Regions from separate parts of the Homo sapiens genome. Here all the other regions are linked to region 4. Evidence: promoter capture Hi-C in 16 types of primary human blood cells and fetal thymus (Javierre and others, 2016). All regions are on one chromosome and are shown on one strand. The core of a region is centred on a gene start or on the middle of the fragment in contact, and the rest is flanking DNA. Distances in the headings are between cores, read along the strand shown.

Evidence for each region. The method cuts DNA at HindIII sites, captures the fragments that hold promoters and counts their contacts. A CHiCAGO score of 5 or more calls a contact.
Region 1: a fragment that was not itself captured here is called in contact with the fragment with the promoter of NRIR in region 4 in 2 of 17 cell types (non-activated CD4 T cells and activated CD4 T cells); the score reaches 7.5 in non-activated CD4 T cells.
Region 2: a fragment that was not itself captured here is called in contact with the fragment with the promoter of NRIR in region 4 in 2 of 17 cell types (activated CD4 T cells and erythroblasts); the score reaches 6.1 in activated CD4 T cells.
Region 3: a contact is called between a fragment that was not itself captured here and the fragment with the promoter of NRIR in region 4, in 1 of 17 cell types (activated CD4 T cells). The highest score is 5.8, in activated CD4 T cells.
Region 5: a fragment that was not itself captured here is called in contact with the fragment with the promoter of NRIR in region 4 in 6 of 17 cell types (activated CD4 T cells, non-activated CD4 T cells, naive CD8 T cells and 3 more); the score reaches 12.8 in activated CD4 T cells.

What each region holds. Positions count from the first base shown.
Region 1 is chr2:7,019,602-7,022,301 of GRCh38, forward strand. RNF144A (ring finger protein 144A) reads left to right here. Exons shown (of 9, transcript NM_014746.6): 6 at 872-1,079. Among named protein-coding and RNA genes, the nearest start is that of GRASLND, 100 kb to the left of the region's middle. The HindIII fragment of the contact is 1,465 bases long and covers 533-1,997 here.
Region 2 is chr2:7,070,860-7,073,559 of GRCh38, forward strand. The region is part of intron 2 of LOC101929452 (a long non-coding RNA gene); the gene reads right to left. It also overlaps a transcript of RNF144A not described here. Among named protein-coding and RNA genes, the nearest start is that of GRASLND, 150 kb to the left of the region's middle. The HindIII fragment of the contact is 4,886 bases long and covers 1-2,700 here.
Region 3 is chr2:7,001,161-7,003,876 of GRCh38, forward strand. The region is part of intron 3 of RNF144A (ring finger protein 144A); the gene reads left to right. Among named protein-coding and RNA genes, the nearest start is that of GRASLND, 84 kb to the left of the region's middle. The HindIII fragment of the contact is 940 bases long and covers 927-1,866 here.
Region 4 is chr2:6,839,159-6,841,858 of GRCh38, forward strand. It overlaps NRIR (negative regulator of interferon response), which reads right to left and starts at 1,306. Exons shown (of 4, transcript NR_126359.1): 1 at 1,133-1,306. It also overlaps a transcript of CMPK2 not described here. The HindIII fragment of the contact is 12,024 bases long and covers 1-2,700 here.
Region 5 is chr2:7,049,517-7,052,216 of GRCh38, forward strand. It overlaps a transcript of RNF144A not described here. Among named protein-coding and RNA genes, the nearest start is that of GRASLND, 130 kb to the left of the region's middle. The HindIII fragment of the contact is 7,501 bases long and covers 1-2,700 here.

The DNA of each region.
Region 1 (2,700 bases), core at 15-2,514, 180 kb after region 4:
TTCTGGCAGAGCCTTGCTGCTCCCTGGGGTGGCCACTGATCGAGAATTCGGCATCATGCTGGACAAGAGGGAAGATGAAATGAACAACCAGTCTTCCTACAAAGGGCAGCCAATAATTTAAAGAAATGCAATTTTTGGACAAGGATGTGAAGAAATAGATGTGTCAAAGTGTCTTGTTTTTAGAAATAAACTTTGTGGCTAATTCCATTAAATTGGGCTTCTTAGAAATGTGTGCTGTGATTTGGAGAGAAAATCTGGCCCTTGAAGGATTGGTTTCACTCCGTAGTTAACTCGTGGCTTGGATTTGAGAAGGGGAGGCCATCTTAGGCAGGTGAACCATTTGGTTAGAAGAACAATCCAGCCATCTTCCTTCCCTCTTCCTCTCGGTCTTCTAGCAGCATTTTCCTGGTGCTGGCTGTATGCCCAACATGGGGCCATCAGGGGTCCAGCTTCAGAAAACTGTCCCCTAGGGGAGGCAGATGAGCTAGCGCCATGTGCATTGCTCAGAGAAACCCGACAGGCAGGTGGGCCAAGCTTTCCAGGATGTGGAGGCCTTTGAGCTGTGAGCTGAGTGTCAGAGGCAAGCAGGGCTGACCCAGGGCTCCAAGGGCATTCCAGGGGCAGGAGCAGCATTCCTGAGGGATGTCTGGGTGTCTGGAGGTCTGTTGCATGAAGGGAGAAGTTGGGAAGAGCTACAGCGGAGGTGGAGGTGGAAGGGTGGCTTGGGCGGTGCTTCGGTTGGGGCTGGTGGTGCTGGCTGTATTACCTGGACATGTTCCTCCCTGTCCGTGCACTGAGGGGCTCCTTCCTCTGAAGCCCACATGACCCTCTGGCTTAAGTTTGATTTGTCCATTTTGTCTCACTGTACCAGAGGTGCTGTTTGATCCCTGTCGGACTTGGTGCCCGGCGTCCACCTGCCAAGCTGTGTGTCAGCTCCAGGACGTGGGGCTGCAGACCCCCCAGCCAGTGCAGTGCAAAGCCTGCCGTATGGAATTCTGCTCCACCTGCAAAGCCAGCTGGCACCCTGGCCAGGGCTGCCCGGAGACCATGCCGATCACCTTCCTCCCCGGGGAGACCAGGTACCCTTTGTACACAAGCTGCCACCAAAGGCATGGCTGTGGGCCAGGAGAAGCAGGCATGCTTTCTTCCTAAAAGTGCTGTTACAGTGTAAGTGGCTGTGGCTCAGTCAACCCTAACACACACTGTACCTCTTGAGCCTCACTCAAGCCTGTCATTATTTGTATGTCTATTTATTTTTGAGAACTGACTATGTACCAGGCACTGTGTGAGGCCCTGGAAATAGAAAGGTGTGTGAGAACCACACTTAACACGGCTTGGCTGGAATGACAAATGCATGCGTGGTTTGTTACTTTTAAAGGTTGCAAGTCCTGCAGTACCTGAAGTTTCTGCAAGACTTCACTGTGTTGAAGGTGATCTGAAATGGGGGTACAGAAACAAGAACAGGAGTAGGGTGCACTGGTCATAAATACTGTCTGGAGGGGGATGGGGAGACACTCCCTGGTGGCGGCCTCCCCTGCAGCCATAGTCGGGCTGTTTGCCCAGGAGAATGCTGCCGCACCACGCTCTGTACTTTGACATTTCGTAGGTTGATGCATAGGAAATTCATCATATCCAGGTCTTTTTCTCCTACAAAATCTACAAGGTCACGTGGTTCTGCTGGACACTTGCCCCTGCTCCTGTTGAGTCCAGGATCCTCATAGAGGAGCTGCCACTCTACCCACCACCCTCCCCAGGGTGTGCTCACCAGCTGCTCCCTGTGCGCCCCTTTTCCCATTCCACCGTCCCCAGCTCCTGTTCCTTTCCGTGTGACCCCTGTGCCCTGTTCTAGCCCCCGACCCTCTCAGGGTCCCTGCCACACACCCCTGGTCTCCTTCCGGGCGAACCTCTCTTCCCGTGTCTGGAGTGCCCTGCTCTGCCCTCCTCCTTTCCCTGGGGGCTCCTGCCACACTTCAGGTGGGGATCACATCCCTTTGTCAAGCTTCATGGTTCCGAGGACAGGGTTGGGGCCTCCACCCTCTGTGTTCCCCCTGAGATTCTCTGCATTGATTACAACCCTGGACATATTGGATTTGAGTTCTTGCGTTGACAAGGCCGATTCTGCCATCAGGATGAGCTCCTGACACACAGGGCCTGGGCCTTTCTGAGCAGCCTGCATCAGGCAGGCAGCTGCAAGCACGAACCACTTGTACTTATACTTCACGTGTACTTGGCATCTTAGGGGCTTCAAAACTTTAGATGGAGGCTGGTGAGTGTTTGGAGCCTGATGACTTAGTTTTCTTTATCTGTGACATTCTAGTCTCATTTAAATTATTGTCCAAAGATGATCTAAATCAAAATTCAGAAATCTCATTTTGTGGAAATTTTTAAATCAGAAGATGTCACATAAAAACTGGAATTTCTGGCTTCTCTGGGAAATCCGAATCCTAAGCCTCTCCGAGGCTGCCTCCCCATGCTGGCAGCCAGCGTAGCAGAGCCCCAGCTCTTGCTGGAGGCGCCTCCTGGGCCAAAGCCCCACAGTCCTCACTACTCCTTGTCCCCTGGAACTGAGGCTGCCTGTCAGCTGCCATTTATAACTGAGAAGACACTAAGCTATTTTTTGTATTGGAGGGTTTGTTGTTGTTGTTGTTTTTGGTTAAATCTTCTCCTCAACCATGTTTTTATCCAGCCCCTGACCACTTC
Region 2 (2,700 bases), core at 100-2,599, 230 kb after region 4:
CCTGACCCTGGACTTCCAGCCTCCAGAACTGTGTGCCAATACATTTCTATTGTTTTGAGATTGCTTTGCTGAGTTTTTTTTTTTTTTTTTTTTGAGATGGAGTCTCACTCTGTCACCCAAGTTGGAGTGCAGTGGCATGATCTCAGATCACTACAACCTCCATCTCCCAGGTTCAAGCGATTCTCCTGCCTCAGCCTCCCAAGTAGCTGGGATTACAGGAGCGTGCCACCATGCCAGGCTAATTTTTTGTATTTTTAGTAGAGACAGAGTTTCACCATGTTGGCCAGGCTGGCCTCGAACTCCTGACCTCATGTGCTCCACCCTCCTCGGCCTCCCAAAGTGCAGGGATTACAGGCATGAGCCACCGTGCCTGGCCTTTGCTGTGACTTTTTTACAGAAGCCCTGGGAAACTGACACAGAGCCAGCTGCAGATGTGTGGTTAGGCAGAAACGCAATGGGCAGTGGCTTGGATTTCCCTAGCATGGGAGGCACTGCAGAGTTCCTTATGTGCTTGATGGTCAGGGACAAAGCATGGGCCAGCAGCACGCTCCTTCTTTGGACAAGGTCTTAGGGCAAAAACATTGTAGTCAGACAGTGTAATTTCACATCACAGCCTCACTACTTCCCAGCCGTGTGACTTGGCCTGAGTTATTTACATTTGGCTCAATTTCTCAATTCCAGTTTCATTGCAGCACCTATGTGATCACATTTGTGTGATGATTACAGGTAAATACCATTGTGGGTAAAGTATAAGAAGGAGGCCTGGCATTTACTAATTACAAGATAAATCTCCTCCCTACACTGTGCTTCTTAAGGTTTGGGATGCTGAATGGATTCCCTTCTGGTGATAGTGTTGTATGTCAATGTGGCGAGGCTAGGGTCTCCAGTCACTCAACAAAACAGTCATCTAGGTGTTGCTCTGTAGCTATTTTGTAGATGTGATTTAACATTTACCACCAGTTTGCTTTAAATGAAGAAGACCATCTTTGATATTCTGGGTAGGCTTGGTCCACTTCACTTGAAGGCCTTAAAAGAAGAAAGAGGGGAAGTTCTCCTAAGGAAGAAATTCCTCCTGGAACTCCAGTGTCTGCTCCTACTCGACAGGCTCCAGCCCACCCTAAGGATTTTGGATTTGCCTAGGCAATCCCCCACGTTGCCTAAGCCAGTTCCTACTGACTTTTTTGTCATGTCATTCTGCTCAGTGACAGTAGGAAGTAGGATGATAGTAGCTCGATGCTGCTGTAACAAATGCCTAAAAATGGGGAAGTAGCTTTGGCATTGGGCAATGAGCAGAGGCTGGGTAAATGTTTAGCCACATGCTAGACAAAGCCCAGATTGCCTTGAGCAGAGTGTTGGTAGACTTTGGAAGCTACAGGTGCTACTAGTGAGGGCACAGATGATTTTTGCTATAGAATGGCAGAAGGGTTAGCTCAATCACATCCTTCTGTGTGTGGAAAGTAGAACTTGTAAACAATGGACTCAGATGTTTAACAGAGGAAATTTCAAAGCAAAGTGTGGAAGGTATGGCCTGGTTTCTCTTTGCTGCTTACAGATGAATGGAGGGAAGAACTGTTAAGCAAAGAGAAGCCAGAGCTTGATCAAGAACTGCCTGTCAGGCTTGTAGAATCCCACAGGAACCTCAGGAAATGGATGCACTTCTATAAAAGGCCTCCTTCAATTTTTCTGCCATCTGTCTCTCCTCTTCCTACCCCATTCCATTTTTCAGAGCATATTGTTTTATTTTCTCACTTATCCTGCCACAGAATATTACTGATTTATTTACCTGTCTCGCCCCAGTTAGTGTCTGTTTGAAGGCAATGGCAACGTCTCCATCACTGAGTCTTAGAGCTTAGTGGTGTCAGGTACAAAGCAAACAATAGATATTTGTGGAATGAGTGAATGAATGCATGAACCAACTTTGGGACATGTGCTCATTGATCAGGATTTTGAAGACATTCTAGAAAATCTAGAAAATCAGAAAGACCAGAAAGGCATTTCCTTGACTGGAATCCAAGTGTTTACCTCAAATGGGCTGAGCTGAAGCCAGGGTCATGGGCCAGAATGAACTAGCATCTGATCTGGAATCTGCAGCCTTACACTCCTCATGGCTTCCTGTCCTTCCTGTCCTTGAACTTCACTCTGTCCCATACATACCATGAGACTCCTTGGAACTCTACACCACTTCTCCAGCCTCACCTGTCTATGATCCACCCCATCTACCCTGGCCGTACCGGACAACTTTGAGTTCCCCAAAGAACCCTGTCGCCACTCAGGCCCTTACCTGGCTTGTTTCCTTTCCTAGGGATCCACCCTGTCTCCATCCCTGGGAAGGTCTACTCCTCCTTCAAGACCCAGCTCATGCAGTAGCCCCTGTGGGAAGCCTTTCTCAGTCTCCTCCTCACCCCACGTTTGGCTGTTGGGAAACCACTCCGCTTTGTACTTTCTGATGCAGGATTACAAATGTGTCTATCACTCCCCGGAATTGAGTATTGGCTCTGGAGGGCAGAAATGATGTGATGTTCATATTTGTATGAAGGCCAACATGAGGTCAGAACATGTGATTCATATTCATATTTATCATAGATTTACACATATATGATAATTTTCTGAAAGAGGGCAGTAGAAAGTCCTAAGGAATGGGTAATAAGGAATGAATCATTTTTTAAGTTAACTCAAAGTCACCCCTGGAGATAATGAGGT
Region 3 (2,716 bases), core at 147-2,646, 160 kb after region 4:
GTGGTGGCGTGTGCCTGTAATCCCAGCTACTCAGGAGGCTGAGGCAGGAGAATCACTTGAACCCGGGAGGTGGAGGTTGCAGTGAGCTGAGATCGCGCCATTGCACTCCAGCCTGGGCAACAAAAGTGAAACTCCATCTCAATAAATAAATAAACAAACAAAAGTGAAACTCCATCTCAATAAATAAAATAAAATAAAATTAAAATAAATAAAAAAATAAAAGTGTAACTTTTTGCCCAGGCACAGTGTCTCCTGCCTGTAATCCCAGCATTTTGGGAGGCCGAGGTGGGAGGACTGTTTGAGCTCAGGAGTTTGAGACAATCCTGGGCAACATAGTGAGACCTTGTCTCTACAAAAAATAAAAAAATTAGCTGGGCGTGGTGACAGACACCTGTGGCCCCAGCTACTCAGGAAGCTGAAGCAGGAAGACTGCTTGAGCCCAGGAGGTCGAGGCCGCAGTGAGCCATGATTACACCACTGCACTCCAGCCTGGGCAGCAGAGCAAGACCCTGTCTCAGAAACAAAACAAAACAAAAACGTAACATTTAATAGACAGAATCTTTCCCGTGCAATGCATAACTATAATAAAAGTGACTCTTAGTGGTTTAAATAAAAAGTCAGAACTAGATGGTTGGTTGAGTTGCGTGGCTGAACATTGCTGTGGGATATAGGTTCAGATCTCTGTTCTGCCTCTGCTACCTGCTAACTGTGTGATTTTTAGCAAGCATCCTAACTTCTCTGAGCCTTAGTTTATTCATCTCTAAAATATGATCAACCTCATGAACAAATTAAATGGGGCAATGGGTATAAAGTATTGAGCAGTAGCATGCCTGGTGATAAGTAATACGATATTATTTCCTTTTTTTCCTATATATTTGCAAGATCATTGACCTGGTATGCTGCAGAAAAGCTACGTGTAAACCCTAAGCTTCTGATTGTGTAACATATTAGGAAATAAGTGGCATTTCCTCACCTAGAAATTAAGCTGATTTGGGGCATGGTCTTCCTTTGCACGTCTTTATGTCCCTTTGCATTATGTGTACTGCACATAGTGGGTGCTTTTTTGTGCACATAGCGGATATTTATTTAATTTTTCAAACATTTTTGAACACCTGGCTTGTGCCAGATGCCCTGGGTACGTAGGTAAGACATAATCCCTGCCCCCTCTGATCCCTTGCTCAGCATTAGATGCAGGTGTGGGCTGCGATCATTTGGGGCTTGAAGGGCTAGATTTGCAGTGTGGATAGTGGGTTACAGCACAGAGAGAACAGTGAATTCTGCCAGAAGTACTCAGGAAGGCTTCAGGGGCATTTGAACTATTTCCTTGAGAAAGCATGAACGGATAGAGCCACCATGGTGGGACCAGCGAAGGAAAGAGGGTGTTGGGGCATGATGGGTCCAGATTGAGAGGACTTTGCTAAGGTTTCTACTAGTCTAAAGCTCAGCAGAGACATACAGTCATGCGCCTCATCACCATGTTTTGCTAATGATAGACCATATATATAATGGTGATCCCATAAGATTACAGGAGCTGAAAAATGCATTCTGCCTAGTATTTACTATTCTGTACTTTTTTATCGTTATTTTAGAGTGTACTACTACTTATGAAAAAATAAGAGAGGTGTGGAACAGCCTGAGGCAGGTCCTTTAGGAGGCATCAGAAGAAGGCATTGTTGTTAATCTCATATGAGATGACAGCTCCATGGTGTTACTGCCCCTGAAGAACTTCTAGTGGGAGAAGATGTGGAGGTGGAAGCCAGTGACATGGATGATCCTGACCCTGTGTAGGTCTAGGCTAATGTGTTTGTGTCTTAGTTTTTAACAAAAAAAGTTTAAAAAAAATAAAAAAATTTACAAATAGAGTAAAGCTTACAGAATAAGGATATTAAATACATATATACACACACATGTATTTGTACTATGTATATATTTGTACGTATATATACACATATATATATTTGTACAGCTGTGTTCGTATTTTAGGCTAAATGTTATGAGAATAAAAAAGTTGAGAAAATGAAAAAGTTTACAAAGTAAAAAAGTTACAGGAAGCTAAGGTTAACTTATTGAAGAATGGAGTTTTTATCTGAATTGAGTGTAGCTGAAGTATAGAGTGTTTATAAAGTCTGTAGCAGCAGTAATGGCTGGGCCTTCACATTCACTCACCACTCACTCACCCGGAGTAGCTCCCAGTCCTGTGAGCTCTATTCATGGTAAGCGCCCTGTATAAGTATATGATTTTTTACATCTTTTATAGCATATTTTAAACCTCTTCTATGTTTAGAAATTTAGATGTGCAAATACTTAGTATTGTCGTTAATATGCGAAAATACTTGTAATTGCCTACGGTATTCAGTACAGTGGCACAGCACCCTGTACAGGTTTGTAGCCCAGAGCAATAGGCTGTGCCAGCTAGCCTAGGTGTGTAGTAGGCTATGCCACCTAGGTATATGTTACTACATTCTATAATGTTTGCACAGTGACAGAATCCTCTAAGGATACATTGTTCAGAATGTATTCTCTTCTTGGACAACTCATGACTGTAACTGGCAAGGACTAGAGGGCTCCAGACTAGCTGTATGTGAGCAAAGCCTGCGAGAGGGCAGCATGCTTTGCCACCTGCCATGTGGCCACTCTGGGCCTTCCTTGGGTTATCAAGGTTGGGATCTAAAGGGGGCATGCATTTTCTTATGATCCCCACTTTTCTGCACGCTTT
Region 4 (2,700 bases), core at 56-2,555:
AGCTAAGTTTAGTCCAGGCCTTATAAGGTTGCCTTCCCTACATCTAATTCAAGCATCTTTAGAATAAGGATATCCATACTTAGTATAGTCATCCACAGTATTGTTTGGAACTTTACATGCTGGGAGGGAAGAATCTGTTTGGCAAATATAGTTTTGAAAGATCAGAGACGCAATATGTTCCAGCCAGTATCTTAGACAACCCTCCTTACAGCGGCTATTGGCCCAGACATCCCCTGTTCATTCACAAATCTGCAGATCACTGTCATTATCAAATATCATACAAGGGTCCAGGATTCCATGTGTGGGCATGTTTGGGAAGGACCATGTGCTATTTATTACCTGATAATAAGGTTGGCGAGGGGTGGCATTTCTGCCCGGGGTAGACATTCCCATTGGGAACTCCACCTGGGAGGTCTGGCTAGATTGTTAAAATTTTTCCACAGTCTCTCCCAATGTTTGGTGTCACCCTTGTTCCTTCTTAGTCTCCAGATCTCTGTGCTCTCAGCAATTACAAGCATACTGTTGCAATTATTTAAGGTTTCCCGAGTATGGTCCTTTTCCTTTACTCTTAAAGCAGAGACAGGCATTGGCTATCATTCTATCAACTTCACCTAGTCTAAGGGTGTGAGTTTTACCATCAGGAGGTGTGTCTTTCTGGGTGGAGTTAAAAATGCTCCCATACCATGTTCCCTTTATACCTATTAGGTCCTTAATGATTTAAGGTAAAGCCATCAGAGGGAAACCCTAAGATAGTGAGTTCTGAATCATCAAAGAGTCCATTGGTGTTATTAAACTGAGTAAATTGTTCAGGGCAAACCCAGTAATCAGTCTTGTTGTAGAGATCGGTAATATCTGATATTGTAGGAGCCAAAGAATGTGAGGCATTGCTACATCTAACAGTGAATGCTAGTAAACTTGATAGTAACAAAATCTTCATGTTTATCTCTTGCCTGTGACTACTATCCCTGCTATATGAATAATAACTAAGCAAAAGATTATGGCAATTGAGACTCTTTTCCCAATATTCCACTTAGAAGGTGCCACAGTATGCAGTCCTACTGCAAAGAGCAAGGTGAGTACAACAATTCCCATATGTGTGAAGTAATAAAGTTCCACTTTAAATCTTACTCACCGAGATATATAATTTCTTCGTGGGGGTGGTTTATGAGGTTATGAATGGAATCCCATGGATAATCAAAATCTCCCTGTAAGTATGTGACAAAGAGAAGTTCTAATATCTAACAGCAAATCTCAAGAGGAAAGGTAGAAATGACTTTAGTATCTGGTAAGGAAGGGTGGGATTGAACTGAACAGAGAGTTCCCACTCATTTACTTATCTTTTGGATTTTCAGTTTGAAATCCCCAGACTTTTCACACTGATATCTGAGATGTTCTTCTGGGATGTCAGGGGTCATTCCAGGCCTTGACTCGAGTGTGATGAATCCAAGATTCCAGTCCCACAAACTTCACTGCCGAGCAGGTGGAGAGAAGGATGGTATAAGGTTCCTCCCAGCTGGGACCTAGAGAGGGGAAAAGAGAGGAAAAATCCTTCACCAGTACCAAGTCTCCTTGGTAGAACAGAGGTGGCCCTAGTTCTTGGGGTTGGAATTCTGATAACTGTTTTAATTCCTGCTAGAACTGGGCCAGGGAGGTTACATGTTTAACCAATTCAGAAGTTCTCTGATGTAATATAAAATCATTGGTAAGGAAAGGCCGTCCATATACCATTTCAAAAGGGTGAAGGAACACCCCTTCAACCCCAAATTTGAAGGGGTGCTCCTCACCTGCACTAAGGCTATAGGAAGATAAGCAGTTTAGAGGAGGTGAGTTTCTTGAGACCACTTCCTGAGGTGTCTCTTAATGATATCATTTGTTTTCTCCACCTTCCCTGAAGACTGCAGTCTTCAAGCACAATGAAGATGGTATTGTATGCTCAGTGCTTTTGAGACCCCTTGGGTAACAGCTGCCTTAAATGAGGGGCCATTGTCACTTTGGAGGTATTTAGGGAGTCCAAAACGAGGAATTATTTCATTGACTAATGCTTTTATCACCTTAGAGGACTTTCTGTTTGACATAGAAATGCCTCTACCCAGCTAGTGAAGGCATCCACCCACAACAAGAGGTGCTGAATTCCCCTTATCTTTGGAAAATGGGTAAAATCCATTTGCCAGTCCTCCCCTGGGCAGTTTCCCATTCTTTGTGTTGCTGGGGATGGGGAGATGCCATTTGTTGAGGGGATTGTTTTTGAGGCAGATCTTATAAGCATTAACAATTTGTTTGACTGTTTTTGGTAGATATTTACCTGAGAACAACCTCTGGGCTATTTGATGAGTTTTATTCTTTCCCAAGTGAAAAGTTTGGTGAAGGATCTTAAGAACTTTCCACTGACTGGAGACTGACAAATAACATTTGCCATCCTCTGATTGTAACCATCCTGAGGGCTGAAAAGTGTATCCTCGAGAGGTGGCCCATTCTATCTCTGCAGGAGAATACTGAGGCTTTATTTCCCTTATGGAGCCCTCCCAAATTAGACAGCCTTCAAGTGTGCTGGGACTTTGGGGTCTTCTTACTGCTGACTTAGCTGTTTGGTCTGCTAGCCTATTTCCTTCAGCTATTTCATCCATCCCCTTCTGGTGTCCTTTGCAATGTATCATTGCCACTTCCTGCAGAAGGAAAACTGAGGACAACAATCTATTTCCT
Region 5 (2,700 bases), core at 42-2,541, 210 kb after region 4:
AAAGGATGAAGATGACAAAAATTCAACTGTGCTCAGCGATTTGAGTTTTCAACGACACGAAAATGAGGTTGCAGTCAGAGTGGATCTTTTTCTCATTTCTGCACAACTCTTAATACATTGTTGGTGCACAATGAATGTTAAATAATAATTTAATGTTTTTATTAATGACAAAGGAGGAATCAACATATTAATGAAACTTGCAGATGATACTAAGCTGGGAGTTATTACAAACACCAATTAGGAGATGAAGACGATGAAGAGGGACCGAGGAAAGAAAGTTCCAACAAAGTGAGCTTCTGTCTTGCAAATACAAGCAAATGCACCTGCAAAAAATGTGTACTGTGGGAAGCTCAGAAGGCGAGGCTAACACAGGCTTAGGAGGGAAAGCAGTCCAAATGCAACGGCTTTTGGAAACGCCAGGGGCAGGATGTGTGATGAAAGTCATAAGAAAAAGCACAATCTCCTCGGCTTTTTCAGTCGAAAATGCATTCGATACCAAGTTTCATTTGGTTGCACGTTGGAAGCTGGTCATGACTTTGAAGGAAGAACTGTTTGCCTTTCCCAGGAGATGAATTCACGAGTGAGTAGGACCTGGTTCCCTGTCCTCAGTTCGGGTCCTGATATGGTTTGGCTGTGTCCCCACCCAAATCTCACTTTGAATTATAACAATCCCCACACGTCCAGGGTGGCGCCAGGTGGAGATAATTGAACCATGGTGGTGGTTTCCCCATATTGTTCTCGTGGTAGTGAATAAGTCTCAGGAGATCTTATGGTTTTATAAATGGGAGTTCCCCTACGCAAGCTCTCTTGCCTGCCGCCAAGTAAGACATGACTTTGCTCCTCCTTCACCTTCTGCCATGATTGTGGGTCCTCCCCAGCCATGTGGAACTGTGAGTCAGTTAAACCTTTTTTCCTTATAAATGCCTCAGCCTTGGGTATGTCTTTATTAGCAGAGTGAGAACAGACTAATGCAGGTCCTCTTCAGTCTCTCGTGGACACACCTGGGGCCTCCTAAAGTATCTTCTGCTCCCAGCCTCCTCCCTTCTCACCATTCTGTTCCTGGGGCATTCTCTGTTTCCATCTTGTGATGCTTCTGTTGAAAACCATTGAGAGCCTTCTGCTTCCTGTGTCGTTAAATCCAAATTCTTCACCGTTGCCTATATTTCAGTAGCATAAATTCTCTCATATACCTTTAAGGGAATGGAGAGCAACAGTCTTTTGAAAGACAAGCAGATTCTTGGCTCCCTCACTGGCCTCCATGGGGAAGACTTAGGACTCTGTATACCAGCATTGGAGGGGAATGTCGAAGGGAACGGGAGCTCCCAAGGGAGGAAGTGCTGGAATCCCAGTGCTGTCAGGACCACTCAGACCCCGTCTATATTTATAAACAAGGAGAAGCTCAGTGAGGCAGAATGCCTCGGGTGCAGTCTTGAAGCTAGTTCCTGGCAGGGCTTGGACTGAAGTTTAGATCCTCCCTTTTCTTCATCAGTGCCTTGGTACCACACCACACAGACCAATGCAAATGCACGGAGACATCACAGTCTAGTGCGGCAGGCCGGAAGGTGATGATCACACTCCACAGGTGGTAGCAGAGAGGAGCTCCACCCCCTGCAGGAGAAGTCAGAGCAAATTTCTGGAGGAGACGGAATTGGGGTCGGGGATGGAGAGAGCAGGGGGTTGCTCAGAGCACAGATTGGGAGGGAATGCCACCACACAAACACACCCATGCAAGTAAAGCCGCAGACGCCCCAAGAGAGCTTGGCAAACCTTCAGTGCAGAGCTGAGCTCCAGTAGGGTGAGGGGATTGGAGGTGGAGCAGGTGGACGGGGTAGAGCGGTAAGGGACAGAGGGGATGCACTTTTTAAGGTTTAAGCCAGGCTGGAGGATTTCAGGTTAAGGTTGGTGCTGACACAATAAGATATGGGATTTGCCTACGCCACGGTAGCTGCATGTAGGGGAGCTTGGATGCAGAGGATGAGGGCCAGGACATGAGGTTAGGAAGCCGCCAAAAGGAGCAGCGAAGAGGAGATGGGGGTCTATGCCCAGCCTGTGGAGTGGAAAGTAACAAGTATCAGTAAAAAGACAGTTGAGGGCAGGCACAGTGGCTCACGCCTGTAATCCCAGCACTTTGGGAGGCCAAGGCGGGTGGATGACCTGAGATCAGGAGTTTGAGACCAGCCTGGCCAACATGGTGAAATGTCATCTCTACTAAAGATACAAAAATTAGCTGGGCATGGCGGTGGGTGCCTGTAATCCCAGCTACTTGGGAGGCTGAGGCAGGAGAATCGCTTGAATCCAAGAGTGTGGCTCCCAGATGAAGATGTTCTGCCCTGGCTGCTCCACTCCGGTCTGGTCTGGCTGCTTCAACCTCATGGGATCTTCCTGAGCTTAGTGCTGACTTCCAAGAGTATCAATGAATCCCCCAGTATTCAGAATAACCCAAGGACACCCTCACCCAGGTATGCCCAATTCTCACTCATATTACTCCTCCCTTAGTCCATCTTAATTAGAATGCCTAATTGGAAGTAACATAAATACCTCCAAAATGCCCTATTGCCTCTGTAGCTGTGCCCTGGAGAGAGGAACTCATAAGTTAACAGTCCGTGGTGTCACTCAGAAAGCAGGTGGTTTATACCTTGGCATCACCTCACCTTGATTCTGAACCAGAAAAAAAACAAAACGCTGGCCGTGGCAAACATG